2 separate regions of the Homo sapiens genome follow, and region 1 is linked to region 2. The links are contacts of gene promoters, found by promoter capture Hi-C in blood cells and fetal thymus (Javierre and others, 2016). All regions are on one chromosome and are shown on one strand. The core of a region is centred on a gene start or on the middle of the fragment in contact, and the rest is flanking DNA. Distances in the headings are between cores, read along the strand shown.

Region 1 (3,284 bases), core at 77-2,576, 1.3 Mb before region 2:
TGTGATCTTGCGAGCAAGTCATGAAGCCCTGCCAAGCCTCAGTCTCCTCCTCTATCAAACTGGGATAGTAAGTGGTTACTGTTGTAGGAATATCAGGGTTGTGAGGAATAATCTATTGTCAAGTCAAGGCCTTAATACATGGCGGGCAGGTAATCAATATTTGTTGAATAAATGTCTCACGGTTAGAGTTCAGTTAACCTTAGCTATGCTGATGAGGATCTGTAAACATAAGGTTCAAAGCACTTATCTTTGGGTTATTATAGTTGGATAATAGGAGACCAAAACATCTAAGCAAGGGCAGTGTGTACTTGTCACCTTTATTTCATCAGACATAATGGGGTTTCTGCTAAGCATCAGACTTGCCAGCTGTTGAGGTGTGAGCTAGGTATCTTATAAAAAGTTCTAAGTATACATCTCCCAGTATATAATAAAACATTATTTAAAACCATTGTTAAAAACTGAAAAACAGTTGCAATAACACTGAACTTGTCTCTGGTTGCTGCCAGGAATAATGGTCACGGGTTTGCTAAGGCAGCGTAACAACTTCTGAAAGAAATTATTCCCAAAGACCTTATCACTCAATCTGAAATTAAGACATGCTGGATTTTTGCTTTTAAGTGACTCTGGAGGCATTTGTGTGGAGCAGAATAAAGCAGAAACCGACAGGCTGCATGACAAAGTTGGCAAGGGTATCTCTCTGTCAGCCCTGTAGGCTGCCTCGACCTGTCAGCACCACTGTTTAAAATTTCAGCTCCCTGAATCCCTGCATTGTAAGAATTTGGATCTTCTTGGGAAGTGGAGCCCAATGACGTGCAGCACACCGCGGAAGGGAAGAGGGCTTACCAGACCTTTGCTCTCCCACTGCCCATGCTTCTCGCTCAACCCGGTGCGAGACCTGACTTAGAGATTATTTCTTTCTCCAGGGCCCTGGACCCGTCCCCGCAACCCCCCGCCCCGTCTCACTGGCCCGGGTTCCGGGCTGGCCTGTGGAGAACCCCCGCGAGCGCACCGCACTCCAATGTAAAGCCAGCCACTGCCGGCCCGCTTCCCAGGTCGCTTTTCTCTGAAAACCGACCCCAGTGCCTCCGGCTTTACAATTTGAGTAAACTGGGTCATCAGCAACGGCAACGCAGACCCAAGCGACTATCGCCGTTCATTCAGAGACTGAAACGGGGAGACGAAGCGCGCGGGCGGGGAACGCTCACCCGGGCACCTCCCGGTACCTCGTCGTCGCCCCGCCCCGCAGCCTGTAGAGGGCGTGGCTAGAGGCCAGTCCGTGCCCCGCCCCTCCGGCCGCGCGCCAGCGGGCGGAAGTGACGTGTGCCCAGAGCCATTTCCGGCGGCCCGAAACTAGGAAGAAACTTGGAGCTGTTCAGGCGATCCAGCCTCCAATCGCTGCTGCTCTTGTACTCGGTTGGCCCGGGCGGCGCTGAACTGTCGGGAGCCTAGGCCATGGGGCAGCCTGGGCCTTCTGCAGTGTGAGGCGCGGGGCCTCCCGCGTCGCTCCGCTGACAGGCTGCGGGCGGGCAGGCGGGAGGCGTAGTGTGGGTCGCGGTGGCGGCCCCGGCCGCCGGCCCTGGCCGCGGCATCATGAACATAGACGTGGAGTTCCACATCCGGCACAACTACCCCTGGAACAAGTTGCCGGCCAACGTGAGACAGGTACGGCCGGAACCTGGGACCGGGCCCCTGACGGATTCGGCCCGCCCAGCGGTCACCTGCTTGCCTCGCTCGCGGGGCCCGAGCGGGCTGCTGCCGGCTGACTCCCTTCCTTTACTCCTCCGTGGTCTTGGGGAGACGGACCTTCAGCCCAGGGCGAGGAGGGGACGGCTGTGGGGCCACAGGGCCAGGACGGGGCGATCGCTAAATGGGATGGCATGGTGTCCACAGGACTCGACTGGCGCCTTTGCCCGCAGGATACATTCAGCCAGGCACCTGCGATAGAGATTTTAAACACGGTCCTTGACCTCCGGAATTTCAGGATGGTGGGAAAGGGATGGGAAACAAATGAATACGATACAGGATGATAGCAGCTCATACACACCTGCATTGTAGTATATGTGAGAGCAGAGGGAGGGAGAAATTATCCTGGGAGAGTTGGAAGGATTTTTAAGGCAGGCACTTAAATTGGGCCTTGGAGGACGAATAAGAGTTAAATAAGAGGGAATAAAGATTTTTCCAGGGGGAGGGAAAGTCATTTTACAAAGCTTGGATGAGTGAAAGAACATGTCTCATGAGTAGCAAGTGACTGTATCACCAGAGTTTGGACTGACATGTTTGGAGTTGAAGTTTTTTGAGTGCGCGGGGCTGGTAGCAGATGAGCCTGGAAAAGTGGTCAGGGCCAGATTTTGAAGGTGCTTGTGTGCTTTGTTTTGTTGGACTTTATCCTCCAGACAAGATGGGTTTATCAGAGATGTTTCAACAAGAGTGACATGAGGTTTTTGAAAGTTAATTCTCGATTTTTTTAGTCTGTTTTACTCAATTGTTTAATAGATATTTATTGACCACCTACTAGGTGCTGTGCGTTGCTCTAGGTGCAGGTAATTTGCAACAGTCAACAAGACAAAGACTGCCTTCATGGAGCTTACATTTTACTAAAGAAAGACGTAAACAAATAAATGAATAAATACGTAACATAGCAGATGGTTTTAAGTCTTACGAAAGTAGTGATATGGGCTACAGATAACGCACTGCTGCTCTGGTCATAGATTGACCTTCGCTTCCTCCCATTATACTTGGTCGAGAGTGAAATTCAGTTTTCTGTTGGCACTCGGCAGTGGCATTTTTGGGAAGTTTGGAATGGTGGCGGTGATGGTATATAAGGATTATTTATTTATTTTTATTTTTATTTTCATTTCTTTGAGACAGAGTCTCCTGTTGCCCAGGCTGGAGTGCAGTGGTGTGATCTCCGCTCACTGCAAACTCTGCTTCTTGGGTTCAAGCGATTCTCCTGCCTCAGCCTCCCGAGTAGCTGGTACTACAGGTGCGCGCCACCACGCCCAGCTAATTTTTGTATTTTTAGTAGAGACGGGGTTTCATCATGTTGGCCAGGCTGGTCTCGATATCTTGACCTCATGATCCGCCCGTCTCGGCCTTCCAAAGTGCTGGGATTACAGGCGTGAGCCACAGTGCCCAGCCAGTATGAGGATTGTTATAGTTTAGTTTACTTTGCTCCCTTCCTCCCTTGGGGATTTAGTGCCAGGAAGTGAATATTAAGGTTCTGGTCATGCATCATGTGGCCAAGAAAATGCTTTCACTTTAATATAGCAAAAACCGAGAAAGAT
Region 2 (2,914 bases), core at 260-2,759:
TAAGACTCAGCTAAGTCTTAAAAAACCACTTTAGAATTAGGTCCAAATAAACACTGTAGAAGAAGCTATGTTAAATTATCCTTTCAGAGGTTCTCTTGGTGCTAGGGATCAAGAACACTTGAAGATCAGTTTTCTCAATACAGGCTATATTATTATTGGCATGAAATCCAGAGATCCCACTATATTTTCTTATTTTCTTTTACAAGTGCCGGTAACTTCATTTTTAATAATTTGGCGTGGAACTGTGATTTTCAGTTTGGGAAGTAATCCTAATCAAAAGACATGCTTTCAAGAATAAGGCATGACATCCTTACACCAATTACCCTGAGTACAGAATAATATTTCTTAAGGAAATCGAATTGTCGTGGACAAACAGTTTACCCTCTTCAGAGGACAAAAGAAGGCAGGTCTATTTTTAGCCTTTCGCAAAACCTCAGTTCCATAAAGGAAGCACTGGTCTCCACAAATCCATTATCACAAACAAAATATAACGGTTGCTGATCAAGATAAATGCAAGCTGCATATATTTTCCAGAAAAGTTCTGAAATGAGGCTGAACCTGAAATCCTGGGAAAGGCAGGTGAAGGACAATTAGAGAAGGTGTCCCTTGTAGTGCACAAAGACAGTAAAACTTCGCCCTCACTACGCCTCACCTATGTTTGAGGGAGCTCCATGCGCTTGCAATCAGGAGACCCAGTTTTATGGCTCTGTGACTTTTTTTCTTTCTCCTGTCCGATCATAATCCTGATTCCGATCCCAGGAATCAGGGCCCTGGGAACTTTTTTTTTTTCCCCCAAATGCAAAGGATTTTGACATCAGTATGTCACAGGTGAAGGCATTAAGGCGCGGCGAGCAGCAATGACTTGCCCAAACTCACAGCCCATGGCATAACTAGAATGCAAATCCACGTCTGTCAGCCTGTAAAAGTCCTCACTACTAGCCTTTCAGTTTTCTCAAAAGCAAAGAGAAATAACGACGACATCCATACAGCAGTGTTCCCGGAAACTTGGAAGGATGAGATTCGGACCAAGCAGCTGAACGGTGCTTCCTAAAGCGAGGAAGGGGTGTGCAAAATGATTTCCCCCTAAGCGGAGACGAAGAGCTGGATTACAGCCCCCGCCCCAGAAAGCCCCTAAGCCCTCCATCCCGAGTCCCCCATCCAGGCTGCACGCGACTCTGCAGACCTCCCCGTGGCCAGCGCGGCCCAGCGGGGAGGGGAAGGGGGCCATGCAAAAATGGGGCGCGCTCACTCCATCCCCACTCACCTGTCAGCCGGGCCGCGCCACGGCGCACGCGCAGGGCCGGAGGTCGCGCGCGGAGCCGGCACCCAGTTTCCACCCCTCCCTCAAGGCGGCGGTCCTCTTCTATCCGCAGTCCCGGACCTGGAGCGGGTCAGACCCCGACTTCCGCCCCTGACTCCCCAGGCGGTCACATGACCGAAGCGGCTGGGAGCAGGGAGGGGCATCATGTGACCACTCGCCGGCGACGGCTGATGACGCAAGAGCCCGCTCTCACTTTTCAGCGGCAGGCGAAGGGGGCTGAGGAAAGGAGGTGGGTCTAGGCAGGGGAAATTGGGGTGCCACCAGACGGAGACAGCTTGGACTACCAGGTAGGGAAGAAGCGGGGGACGGCAATGGGGAGGGTGGCAGGAGTTTCGCCACCCTCAGGGACACTCCACGGGGACTCCGAGCCGGGGGTCCGTCTACCCGGATTATGGTTGTGGAACTTTTCACGCCACGGTAGTGAGTCTGGGACAGTTTACCCTCCTGTCCGAGACGCCATCTCTCCATCCTTTCGCCTCAAGTGTGTAGGGGCAAGATTACGAATTTTTGATCCAAATAGATTTTGTTTGAACTGACTTTAAAAGTAAGGCCACGGGAAGGTCGTTTGAATAAACTCTCTGGACCTCAATTTCCTCTTCAGTTATGTAGATTGCAGTGAGAATTAGCGATAAGGAGAATAAAGTGCCGGGACACCAGTTTATGGCATTCTGTAGGTGACCGAGAAATGATGATGTCTGTTGTTATTTTTGTAACTGGCCAAATCTTTATTGGTCCCCTATTTTGTGTGAGGAATTGCTTTATATGCAATAGAATATGTCAGGGTTCTAGTTTAAGGAGGTGTCAGTTTAAAGAAGCTGCAGACATGTGAGCAAATAGTTGTGATGAGTTTCATAATAGGAGTGTGTTGTGTACATGTGCATGTGATAGGGATAATGGTAGCATGAGGGAGGGAAAAGCAATTGTATGAGAAGGATTCAGAGAGAAGGGATTATCCTTGCATGTTGAAAAAGGAGAGGCAGCTCTGGCTGACTTGTACAAGGCTCCCATGGATTTAAAGGAAGTCAACATATTGTCTATAAATAACATGCAGAGAAAAAACTCAGGAAATGCACAACTTGTTCTAAACTTTCTTGGAGATCATAGGTACCGGGAAGAAAAAGATCAGTGTTATTACCTGGGGAGGGATCCAAGAGAGATTGATTTAAACCAGTTATTCTCAACTGATGCACTATTGACATTTTAGGCCAGATAATTTTTTGCTGTGGGGTCAGGGTGAGGGCTGTCCTGTGTTTTGTAGGATGCTTAAGAGCATCCCTGGCCTCTGCCCGCTAGATGCCAACCACAAAGTCTACAGATACTGCTAAATGTCCCCTTGCGAGAGGGGTAAAATCCTTCTTGGTTGAGAACCACTTAAACCAAGCCATGAAAGATGGTATCTTAGTCAATGTGGGCTTCTGTAACGGAAATGCCATAAACTAGGTAGCTTATGAACAACAGAAATTTATTTCTCACAGTTCCGGGGCCTGTTTCCTGGTTCATAGGTGGCTTCTTGCTGTGTCCTCACATGGTGGAATGGCAAAGCAGCTATCTGGAGCATCTTTTAAAAGGGCACTAATCTTATTCATGAAAGTG

Evidence for each region. Contacts are between HindIII fragments. The CHiCAGO score rates a contact against its expected background, and 5 or more counts as called.
Region 1: the fragment with the promoter of FAM91A1 here is called in contact with the fragment with the promoter of NSMCE2 in region 2 in 2 of 17 cell types (monocytes and total B cells); the score reaches 11.1 in monocytes.

Annotation. Positions count from the first base shown.
Region 1 is chr8:123,767,113-123,770,396 of GRCh38, forward strand. It overlaps FAM91A1 (family with sequence similarity 91 member A1), which reads left to right and starts at 1,327. Exons shown (of 24, transcript NM_144963.4): 1 at 1,327-1,662. The coding sequence starts at 1,591. RefSeq lists silencers at 1,513-1,662, 3,231-3,280. The HindIII fragment of the contact is 7,175 bases long and covers 1-2,205 here.
Region 2 is chr8:125,090,351-125,093,264 of GRCh38, forward strand. NSMCE2 (NSE2 SUMO ligase component of SMC5/6 complex) reads left to right here and starts at 1,510. Exons shown (of 8, transcript NM_173685.4): 1 at 1,510-1,608. WASHC5 (WASH complex subunit 5) reads right to left here and starts at 1,442. Exons shown (of 29, transcript NM_014846.4): 1 at 1,265-1,442. RefSeq lists a silencer at 1,162-1,331 and an enhancer at 1,382-1,601. The HindIII fragment of the contact is 6,790 bases long and covers 1-2,914 here.